3 separate regions of the Homo sapiens genome follow, and regions 2 and 3 are each linked to region 1. Evidence: promoter capture Hi-C in human tissues and cell types (Jung and others, 2019). All regions are on one chromosome and are shown on one strand. Each heading gives the region's core, a stretch centred on a gene start or on the middle of the fragment in contact. The rest is flanking DNA. Distances are from core to core; before and after follow the strand shown.

What was found. Contacts are between HindIII fragments. The study calls those that stand out against the background at their distance.
Region 2: a fragment that was not itself captured here is called in contact with the fragment with the promoter of AFAP1L2 in region 1 in 1 of the 25 tissues and cell types used here (spleen).
Region 3: a contact is called between a fragment that was not itself captured here and the fragment with the promoter of AFAP1L2 in region 1, in 2 of the 25 tissues and cell types used here (hippocampus and mesenchymal stem cells).

Annotation. Positions count from the first base shown.
Region 1 is chr10:114,402,857-114,406,630 of GRCh38, forward strand. AFAP1L2 (actin filament associated protein 1 like 2) reads right to left here and starts at 1,646. Exons shown (of 19, transcript NM_001001936.3): 1 at 1,584-1,646. The coding sequence starts at 1,599. RefSeq lists silencers at 801-850, 1,648-1,727 and an enhancer at 1,681-2,181. The HindIII fragment of the contact is 21,033 bases long and covers 1-3,774 here.
Region 2 is chr10:114,454,360-114,458,133 of GRCh38, forward strand. All of the region lies in intron 12 of ABLIM1 (actin binding LIM protein 1), which reads right to left. Among named protein-coding and RNA genes, the nearest start is that of AFAP1L2, 52 kb to the left of the region's middle. The HindIII fragment of the contact is 4,648 bases long and covers 1-3,774 here.
Region 3 is chr10:114,354,644-114,358,417 of GRCh38, forward strand. All of the region lies in intron 1 of AFAP1L2 (actin filament associated protein 1 like 2), which reads right to left. Among named protein-coding and RNA genes, the nearest start is that of AFAP1L2, 48 kb to the right of the region's middle. The HindIII fragment of the contact is 6,713 bases long and covers 1-3,774 here.

The DNA.
Region 1 (3,774 bases), core at 396-2,895:
ACACACACCCCAGCTTTGCAAGTCAGGGAGCTGGAAGGCACCCCAGAGGCCAACACTTCCTGTCAGGCTCAACTCAAGGCCTGAATTCCCAGAGAGGGTCCCTCCCGAAGGGCGGAGGGGCCCCAGTAGGGGAGGGAGTGCAAACGGCCATGTTACAAGGAGCAGGACTGTGGCTTCCTCAAGTGTCTGAGACAGCATAAGCGCGCATTCAGTCATTCAAGCACAAAACTGACGTGATCCCAGTAGAATTTGAGAAGAAGAAAACCACCGGGTTAGAAATGCGAGAGAAGCTCCAGGGAGGGTTCACAGAAAGAAATCAAAGGTGGCCAACTCCTTTAACCCTGTCCCCCACGCCGGCTCCCTGCTGTCGGCAAAGACCCTTCCTGAATATATGAAGCTCTGTCTGGGACTTGGATCTTTTGCCTTCACCAGTAACCAGGCTACCCAGATGAGAAAAAGCAATGGGAAAGTGAAAGACAAGACTACTTTAGGGAAGCCGGTCCCAACAGGTCCCTTTATGTCAGTTTCAGGGATCAGAGCCCTCCGGGAGTGAGATTCCTGGGAATCTGAGCGTTCTCTTTTTATTACTCTCTCCCAGGGGAAAACAAATATAGAAGCAGCATTTCCTCCCGCAGGTTTGGCGGAGACCGGTCCAGCAAAAGAGAAGGCAAGAGGCTTTTCCAAAGGGAAGGGGTCTGCAGGAGGATGGGGGAGGGGGGAGCGCCCGCAGGGTTCCTCTTAAGGGGCAACTCCCTGTACTCCCTTTTCAAAAGAACCGCAATCGAGACTTGTAGACCAGCTCCGAGGCTCCGAGTGTGGGTGCTAAGCTGGGCGTCCGGCGCACCCGGGACGGCCCGCCCACCGGGGTTTGGCGGAGATCCTGGCCCCCGCCAAACCCAAAGCTCGCCCAGCTGCGCACTGAGCTAAGCCCTCGGGTCCGGACGCCTCCAGGAGCTCCACCTGCCGGGCACTCCATTCGGCCCCCGACCCTCGCATCCCTCCTTTCTTGGTGTGGGGGAGCAAAGAAGGGCTTGGAGAGAAACGATGACCCGAACGGCAGGACGTTTGGGGAGGCCCCACCTAGCCCGGGGAGGGTCTGCGCGCCCACTCCACTGCCCAAGCGCTTTGCCGGGAGCAGGAAGCCCCTAGCCCGGCGGGCGCCCGGGAGAAAGGACTCAACAGCCCGACCCTTTGCCCCCAGCAGCTCAGCACGGTTCCCACCTTCTTCGGGGCTTCCTCGGCCCCAGGCATCTTTCCTGTGCGGCGGGACTGAGGGTGGAGTGGGGTGCCGGGCTCACCCTCTCTCCTGCAACAGGTGAGAAGCCCCGCCACGCCCCCCACTGACGACCCCCTCCTTCCGCGCCCGGGAGGATCAAAGGGCTCGGGCCGCAGCAGCCACCTAGGAGCCCACCCGCCCAGTCCGCGGCGCCGCTGTCGCCCCCTCTTAGGCCCAGGTCCGGGCTGGGTGGGGGCAGTGGGCTCTGCTTATCCCGAGTCCTGGCAAGACGAGTCCTAGCCCTGCCCTCCGCGTCGCTGGGCGAAAGGGAGTGGGTGTGCGCCGCGCGAGGAACCCGCGCCCTCACCTTTGTACCGCTCCATCGGGGCCACGGAGTGCGCTCCTCGCGGCTCGGCTTCTGCGCTGCTCTCCCGGCGCTCGGCTCAGCGCCCAGGCCGCCGCGCTGGCCCCTCCCCGTGAGGTCACGCTCGCGGCCGGACCTCCTGGCGGGGCCGCCGCGCCCAGGGTCCTCGGACCTGGCCCCCGCCAGGGCTCGCCCCCAGCGCCCCTGTCCCAGCGCCCCTGTCCCAGCGCCGGAGAACTCCGGCCCGCCGAGGCTGACAGTCGGCTCTTGAGTCGGTGCGCGCCCGCGGCCCCGCTCGCCGCCCCCGGCCGCCTTGGCACTCCCTTCACGTCTTGACTCCGGGGGCGTCGAGAGGGAACGAGACTGGGACGTTCCCAAACTCTGGGGGAGGCTCCGGGAGGCCGGGCTTGGGTGGGCCTCCAAGATTGTTCCCACACCCCTGCCCGCTGCAAACCCAATGCCTGGAGGAGGAGACCGAGGTCCAAGCTAGGAGGTTGAGACTGGCTTAGAGCTCCTCGCGCTTGGCTCCCGAGCCAGCGCGCTTTTGCCCTAGGCCTTCCTGGAGGGGCGAGGAGGGCAGCGGGGCGGGCAACCAAACCTGCTCCGGGTTCTTTGGGGATTGCTCCCACTCTCTTGGAACCTCTCTGGGCAGCCGCTGCCAATCGCGCACACTTCAGGGTGTGTGAAAACATCTGCTTGCTGCTTTCTACCTGAATTTCCAGGGCCAACGCCACAAGTCAGGGAGTGCCGTTTCCGGGGCGCCCAGTAAACCTGACCGCCTTGGAGGGGTGGCGCCGGTTCCATAAGGAAGCTCGGCCATGGCTCTGAATCTCCACCCTGCACTGCCTCCATCCAGAAGTGCCACACTTCCATCCTTTGCCTTTTGCCACCGGTCCTTCCAGGCCCTTAATGCGACCTAGTCTTCTCCGTGCTCCCCCCAGAGATCTATGTGTTCTTTTAAACTTTTTCAGTTTTCACTTTAAAATCTCAGTCACGGTTTGTGCTGGGTGCCTGGTTGGTTACCTAAGTTCCCCAGCTTCCTTGAAGGAACAATTAAGGAAGATTTGGCAGTGGTGGTTTTCTAAAAGACTTCTTAATTCTTCCTTGGAATCGCAGATTTAGTTGTGATGTTTGGAGACCTCCCCCAACCCCTCCCAACAGCATGTAGAAATATTTTTCTTAGTTATACTAGCACCTAATGTGGATGGAGCCCTCCCCACAAGCCAGGCACGGCGCTAAGGGCTGTACATCACTGCCTTTAGTTTCCCCGATATCCCTGTGACATGGGTATTATTATGATCTCTTTCATAGAGGTGAAGAAGCTACGGCTGGGCGCGGTGGCTCACGCCTGTAATCTCAGCACTTTGGGAGGCTGAGGCGGGCGGATCACGAAGTCAGGAGTTCGAGACGAGCCTGGCCAACATGGTGAAACTCCATCTCTACTAAAAAAAAAAAAAAATAGCTGGGCTTGGTGGCAGGGGCCTGTAAACTCAGCTACTTGGGAGGCTGAGGCAGGAGAATCGTTTGAACTTGGGAGATGGAGGTTGCAGTGAGCTGAGATTGCGCACTGCACTCCAGCCTGGGTGACAGTGTGAGACTACGTCTCAAAAAAAAGAAAAGAGGTTAAGCAATTTGCTCAAAGTCACACAGCTAGAAAAGAGCGGAGCAGGCGTTAAACTCGGATCTGTCTGCTTCCAAATGTGTATTTTAATTTTTATTTTTTTAGAGACAAGGTCTTGGTTTGTTGCCTAGGTTGGAGTGCAGTGGCACAATCTTGGTTCACTGCAGCCTCAAACTCGTGGGCTTCACACTGATCATTACAGAAATGCAAATCAAAACTGCAATGAGATACCATACCGTCAGAATGGCTATTATTAAAAAGTCAAAAAATAACAGATGCTGGTGAGGTTGCAGAGAAAATGGAATGCTTATACACTGCTGGTGGAAATGTAAATTAGTTCAACTATTGTGAAAAGTAGTTTGGTGATTTCTTAAAGAACTTAAAACAGAACTACCATTCAACCCAGAAATCCCATTATTGGATATATACCCAAAGGAATATAAATGGTTCTACCATAAAGACATATGCACATGTATGTTTATTGCAGCACTACTCATAATAGCAGAGATATGGAATCAACCTAAATGGTCATCAACAGTAGACTGGATAAACAAAATATGGTGCATATATACC
Region 2 (3,774 bases), core at 422-2,921, 52 kb after region 1:
CCAATTCTTCAAGCTAGGTTTGAGCTGGGCATCAAAGAGTAAGCTCACCAGGTGAGAGGGTAGGTGAATGGGAGGGTGGGAAGCCCATATTCCAGACAGCTGGAATGTCATGAGAAAGGAGGGTGTGGAAGGGTGCAGACTGGAGGAGCAACAGGACTGGCCACCTTGTCTGGAAGGCATGGTGCTCTTGGAGGAGAGAAGAGGGACCAGGGCAGAAAAGAGAGCAAAGGGGTGGCTGCAAAAGCTTTAAGTGCCACCATAGCCACCATCACTCCCTTCTGACCAGGAGAATGGCCAAGATAAACTAATTCAGCTTGTGCAAAATTAGAAAGAGATTTGTAACTGGCCTAAATTGTCCTCCTACCCTATGTCTGGGCAAACATCTTGTCTCAAGAAGACACCAGAAGATGCAGGACTATTAAAGCTCAATAAATTAGTAGGGGTAATGACTTTTACTGCTGAGTTGTAAGAGCTCTTTATATATTCTGGATACAAGTCTCTTGTCAGAAATAATATGAACTTGCAAATATTTTCTCCCAGTCTGTAGGTTGTCTTTTCACTTTTTTGGTGGAATTCTTTGAAGCACAAAAGTTTAAAATTTTTGATAAAGTCCAATTTATTTATCTATTAACACTAATAATTTTAAATAAATCATAGATCATCAGAAAATAGAGGTCTGGCCAGTTGCTTCAGGTCAAATTTTTCTAAATCTATCCAGTCAAGTGTGAAAGATGTCAATTGTTACCGTTTGAATATACATTTAAGAGAATTTTAATGTCTCAGCATGTACATTTTTAAGTAACCAGAGTACAGATCTACACTAAATGGGCAGTAAGATATTCCAAATATGGGATCTGTGTCTATTACTGAGTCAAATTTAGATTTCTGGCTTTTGGTTATTGGTGTTCTGAAACTTTTGTCTTTTCTTCTCAAGAGCTGGTTTAGCATCCAGACCCAAATATGTTATAATGTTGACTTTATTATTTAAGTCATATATTAGTTCCTAAAAATTATGAAATATCATCCCAAACTATTGATCTATTAAAAAGCTAATTTATAAAAATGTTATCTCATTTATCCCTCTCCTAAAGAGAAGTAACTAGTTCCTATCGGGAAAAAATGAGTATAAAAAACACAGAGGAAAACAGGGGAAGGAAGATTATAATTTGCATTTAGAAGGAAATAGTGTTTTAAACCTGTTGCTGAATTAAAACTTGGTCTCATTTGTCATCATCAGTGCTCAGGGTATCGCCTGGCCAGGAGTAAGTGCTTAATAAATGTCTGTGAATGAATGATTGAAGGAGGCCAATTAATTACCTCCACAGCTATTTATTGGCCTAATTTAGCAAGCACCATGGCAAGATTCACCATCAATTTTCTCTAAATTAAAGGAAGCCAGATGCTAGTGCAATAAGTCCTCACTTAATATCAACAGGTTACAGGAAACTGCAACTTTTTTTTTTTTTTTTTTGAGACGGAGTCTCGCTCTGTCGCCCAGGCTGGAGTGCAGTGGCGCGATCTTGGCTCACTGCAAGCTCCGCCTCCTGGGTTCACGCCATTCTCCCGCCTCACCCTCCTGAGTAGCTGGGACTACAGGCGCCCGCCACCGCGCCCGGCTAATTTTTTGAATTTTTTTAGTAGAGACGGGGTTTCACCATGTTAGCCAGGATGGTCTCAATCTCCTGACCTCGTGATCCACCCGCCTCGGCCTCCCAAAGTGCTAGGATTACAGGCGTGAGCCACCGCACCCGGCTGGAAACTGCAACTTTAAGCAAAACAACATATAGCAGGTCCTTGAAGAACGTCGTTTATTTCAACCTAGAACACTGATGAGGGGAAAAACTAGTTTTTTTAATATTTCAATTCACTTAAGTCACAGTTTCCAAGTAAATGATGATGATAAGTAAAGACCTGTGTACAGCACTGGGCTCACAACAACACCCCTTTTATAAGTTTCCCATTACAGCTAATCTTTGACAACTCCAATATAAATGTTTCACTGAAGAAAAATGATTTAATCCTATGAACATTAGAAATTAACAAGAGTAATCCATAACTGAAAAACAGAATCATTCTTACGGTCTTTTCTCGAAAGAAGGTATAATGGGTCTCAACTTTTACTACTGCTTCTGAACCCCCCTGCCCCATGCTTTTGTTCTTTCACATAGACCTCCACTGTCCTTGCAGAAAATCAGATGTTTCCAGGAAAGTTCTCGTAGGTTTTGGTTATAATACACAATCAAATGAACCCCCATTAAATCAGTTTTTATCATTATTAGCCAGTGTCACGCACACACAAAAATATCTGCATATGCAGGACACAAACTTTAAGGTTATTAGAATTAGACATTTGTCCAGGGATTAAAATATTTCTATCAACAAGACCCTGTGTTGGCCAGTGCCTGTAGAAGCCCCTCACTTCTTGAATATGGTCAAAGCCTCTCAAAGGTTATGGAGTAGCTGTCTGAATTCCCAAGGACTGGATTCTGGCTGAATGCTGTCACCAGTTGGGTGTGGTTCTATATTAGGCTGGATGTCTTCAGCAAACATTCACCTCTCTAGTTGTTTTTTTTTTAAAAAAAAAAAAAAAACACTACTTTGTTCAAATTTTGTAAGCAGATGTAACTATAATCATTTAAAACTTCCCACAAAGCATTTTTAAAAATCAGGTAAAGAGAGACCCAATAACACACCCATCTCAGCAATTCTGCAGAATGTGCTTTTCACATATCACAACCGCTCATCGGGGAATAAGTTCTTGGAATACATAATGTTGCTAGGTACCAAATTCTTAGCCCTTGAAATACCAAAGGCATGACAAATTTTGGGCATTTTTAAAAGAAAAAGGAAAATTCTCAGGAAGAGGCCTCTTTCCCTTTTCTAAATTAAACACCTTATCTGTATTTATTTTTATTTTTATTTTTTTTTGAGACAGAGTCTTGCTCTGTTGCCCAGGCTGTAGTGCAGTGGTGCAGTCTCGGCTCATTGTAACCTCCGCCTCCCAGGTTCAAGCGATTCTCCTGCCTCAGCCTCCCAAGTAGCTGGGATTACAGACATGCGCCACCACATCCAGCTAGTTTTTGTGTTTTTAGTAGAGACGGGGTTTCATCATGTTGGCCAGGCTGATCTCAAACTCCTGACCTCAAGTGATCTGTGGCGCCTTGGCCTCCCAAAATGCTGGGATTACAGGCGTGAGATACTGCACCTGGCCAATACCCTATTTAAATGATATAACTTTGAACCCAACCCTGGCAGGAAATAACTTATGGGGGCCCTAAGAGGCCATCTGTGCATAGTTCCTTACTTAAACAAAGTAATGTGTGACACACCAGATGAAATATCATATTTGGAAGATATCATTATTTTCATCATCATCGTTGTCATCATCTATCAACCCTGAATAAGATACTGTTTAAAAATAATAGGCCGGGCATGGGCATGATGGCTTATGCCTGAAATCCCAGCACTTTGGGAGGCTGAGGCGGGTGAATTATTTGAGGTCAGGAGTTTGAGACCAGCCTGGCCAACATGGTGAAACCCTGTCTCTTCTAAAAATACAGAAATTAGCCAGGTGTTGGTGGCAGGCATCTGTAATCCCAGCTACTCAGGAGGCTATGGCAGGAGAATTGCTTGAACCCGGGAGGTGGAGATTGCAGTGAGCCGAAATTGCACCACTGCACTCCAGCTGGGGCAACAAAGTGAGATTCTGCCTCAAAACAAAAAACAAAACTACTCTGTGTGTGTGTGTGTGTGTGTGCGCACATAATACAATAG
Region 3 (3,774 bases), core at 939-3,438, 48 kb before region 1:
GAGAAAGAGATCTTTCTTCTCTTGGGATTGCAAGCCATGAGGATGCATAATTGGAGTTAGAGGAGACCCCTCTTTTTCCAGTCTAACGATTAAGCCAGTGCTCAGAAGGAACAAAGCTAATAACTAGAGAAAGAGACAAAGCCCTGACCACATAGCTAGGGTCCCTAGGTCCAGCCATGCCTGAAGCTAACTTTGCACCTGCCAACTACAAGAACCAACAAATTCCCTTTTCACATAAGCTAGGCTTTAGTCACTGATGACCAAAAAGCCTTTCTAAATATAGAAGTGAAGGTTGAACAAATGGTGGCTCCATATAAACCATTCCCTATATAAGGCATACCCCAATTTTTCAAGGTCATACAATGGCCCCATAGAATCTAACTTTCTTGCTCCCTTTGAAAAGTCCAAGCACAAAATCGACAGGACCAGGTAATTATCCTGGATAAACCATGGCCAAACAACTAGAAAAGTGCTGATGATGGCCAACAAACACCGAGGGGTATGGCTGTAATCGGTGCTATTTAAACCACAGTGGAGTATAGCAGGCCTAGGGATGGATGCGGGTGGGGGGAGGTTGCCTCCCCCACAGAAGCCTTTCTCTTCTCGCTCTCTCTTTTTTTTTTTTTTTTGAGACGGAGTCTCACTCTGTTGCCCAGGCTGGAGTGCAGTGGCACGATCTTGGCTCACTGCAAGCTCCGCCTCCCGGATTCACACAAACTGCTGTGATTATAGGCGTGAGCCACCACGCCCGGCTCTCCTCTCTCTTTTTTCTGACTGATGCTCACATCCCTGTGCGACTCTCCATGGTCCCCAGTACAGGGCCCACAGCAGTGCTTTGGAAACTATGGGCATAGTCTTTTAGGTGGGCTGTGCTGTCAATTCAGTGCATTAGCACTGGTAGCTTAAAAAAAAAAAAAGTTTTGCTGAGTTTTGCTGTGAACTTAAAACTGCTCTAAAAATAAAGTCTTTGCAATACATGTAGTAGAAAATATTTGAATGCATACCATCTAATAAAGGCACATACTCTATCAAAAAATTTCTGTCGGGTCCGGGCACAGTGGCTCATACCTGTAACCCCAGCACTTTGGGGGACCAAGGTGGTTGGATCACTTGAGCCCAGGAGCTTGAGACCAGCCTGCGCAACATGCAAAAACCCTATCTCTACAAAAAATACAAAAAACTAGCCAGGCATGGTGGCACATGCCTGTGGTTTCAGCTACCAGGGAGGCTGAGGTAGGAGGAGAATCTGAGCCCAGGAGGTCGAGGCTGCAGTGAGCAGTAATTGCGCCACTGCACTCTAGCCTGGGTAATAGAGTGAGACCCTGTCTCAAAAAAGATTGTTTCAGGTGTATGTGTGTGTGCATCAGTGTGTGCATAGGTGTGTGTGCACACCCTGGGGAACAATATAAAATACATTTCTTACCATGTATATAAAATACATTTCTTACTATGGTCACAATCAAAAAGTTTGAAAAACATTTATCTGAAACTCCCAAAGCCAGAGATATTTTGAAATTCAGTGTATTTTGGAACAGTAACATGGTGCATATTCCCCCAGCAGAGTCTGGGGAAATACTCAGGAATAAAGTACATTAATATTTCTATAATAAAATACACAATTATTTATAGTAAGTGGGATAAACAGATAATGAGTCGCCTCACATCATTTCAGGGCCGTTTTTATCTCCAAATTAGTTTGTGCCTGCTTTCCAAAAAACTTCTGGTTTCCAAGAAACTTCGGTTTCCCCCGCCAAACAAACAAAAAGAATGTAAAATAAACATTTTTAAAATATTGATGACATGTTGAAATGATGATATTTTGGATGTGTTGAGTTAAATAGTCTATTCTTAAAATTAACTTCATCTATTTTTCATGTTTAAAAATGTTAAATGTAATTTAAATTTAAGTGTCATTAAAATTACATATGTGTTTTAAATTTTATTTCTATTGGATAGTACTGATCTAAAACATCAGAGCATTTTTAAAAGTCATCCCTCTGATTAAAACAAAACAAAACAATGTTCAGAGAGAGAAAGGGACTTCATCCAAGTTGCACAGAAAACCCAAATTTCCTATTCCTGCCCAAGGCTTTCTAAACCCAATTTCGAGTAGTTTTGTATCCTAGAGAGCAAAGGAAAGAAGAAAGGTTATTCTTGAATGAGAATTCCATGGGAGCAGTGAGTAAAGCTTGGAAAAGGGCTTTTACATGTGTTGGTCATGATTTACCAAGGTGAGAAGGCTCTAAAAAAGGAAAGTTCTCTCCTCAGGAAAACAGCTGTGCCCTGGATGAAAAAAATGTGGTTACTCCGTGCAGGCTGTACTTTGTTTACATGAACAAGAGCCAGTTATTCATCACAGAAATATTCTAAATTAAACCCTTGAAGCCCCATTATATAAACAAGCTAAAGGTATCACAGAGTTTTGAGTTGGACCATTGTTTTTCTTTAATGTTTCAGCCAAAATTTGTCAAAAGAAACTGCTGATGTACAATTTCAGACTCTTCCAGAGCATTTCATTTGGGGAATAGTTTGCATTTGGCTCTTTAATCAAATCCTCTCTTCCCTTTCTGGCCAGTCTCAAAAGGACGCCTCGGATCCTCACCTCCCTGCCCTGCCTATGCTCCTTGCTATAATTTCTCCAACACTGTGGCCTCCAACTTCAAACACCCTTAAATTTCTTTAGCTACTCTTTCTCTGGTGTAACCACATTCTCTAATGCAACACCCACACACACTCATACTCACTCTGAACTGTTATCCCCTTGACCTTGAAGCCAGGCTTTAACAAGGCCCCAAGGTGTGGTCAGCATTTCAGCCCCTCCCTGTCCCAATCTCACAGTACCCTTGTCTACCCACAACAACATTTCCCAGGTAGTGACTGCATAGCCAATATTCCATGTTGGATATGCAATATGGAATATCCAATATTCCATTGAAAGCAGTAGTGAGTATCGGCTCTCTCTCTCTGCCTGGGTCTTGCTAAGCAATGCAGTGGGGAAGATAAACATGCAAATTCCAATTTCCCCATTTCTAATTTACATGTATTCCTTGAAATAATAAAAGAAGAATGCATGTTGCAATTCTGTTTGCATTAATGTAGCTGTGTCCCTCAAATAGGGTGCTACTAAAAGGAAATGTTTCTTAGAATCAGTGACATTTTAGAATCAACCATTAGTCAATCAGCTCCTGTCCTTCCAACCACGGTTATTTTCCATTCCCTCACAGGGGCTTATTTGCAGTGTGTTAAGTTTCTTTTGACAATACACACTTTCTAAGTGTTTTTAAGGGCCTTCAATGCTAAAATTGTGTCTGTCTCAAATCTCAAACCAGATTCCTACAGTATAAGCATCATGTCTGAGAGTTCAGCCTCCCCAGAACAATCCTAGCTCTGAATCCCAGTGTGGTTCGGGAGTTGCTCACTTCAAAGTGAAGTTGAATTAGAAAAACCTAGGAATAAACAAGCCTCTCTTTTGTTTTCTGTTGTTCTGAATATAATTTGGCATAAAGTAAAGCAAAAATTCAATGACCTCTAAATTCGGCAACAAGGATTAATAGGTTTTATGATGGGTAATTTTCTATTGAAATAAACTAGGAAGATAGAATTACAGTTAAGGAAATAACACAAAATGCTATCAATAATAAAGCAGTCAAAGAAAAATAAGTCTACAACCCAAACAAGGGAAATTGCTTTTATTAATAATAAAGTCAGCCAAATGATGACAAAGGATATCTCACTGAACTCAGACTCATAATAAAACTACATGGTATATCTCAT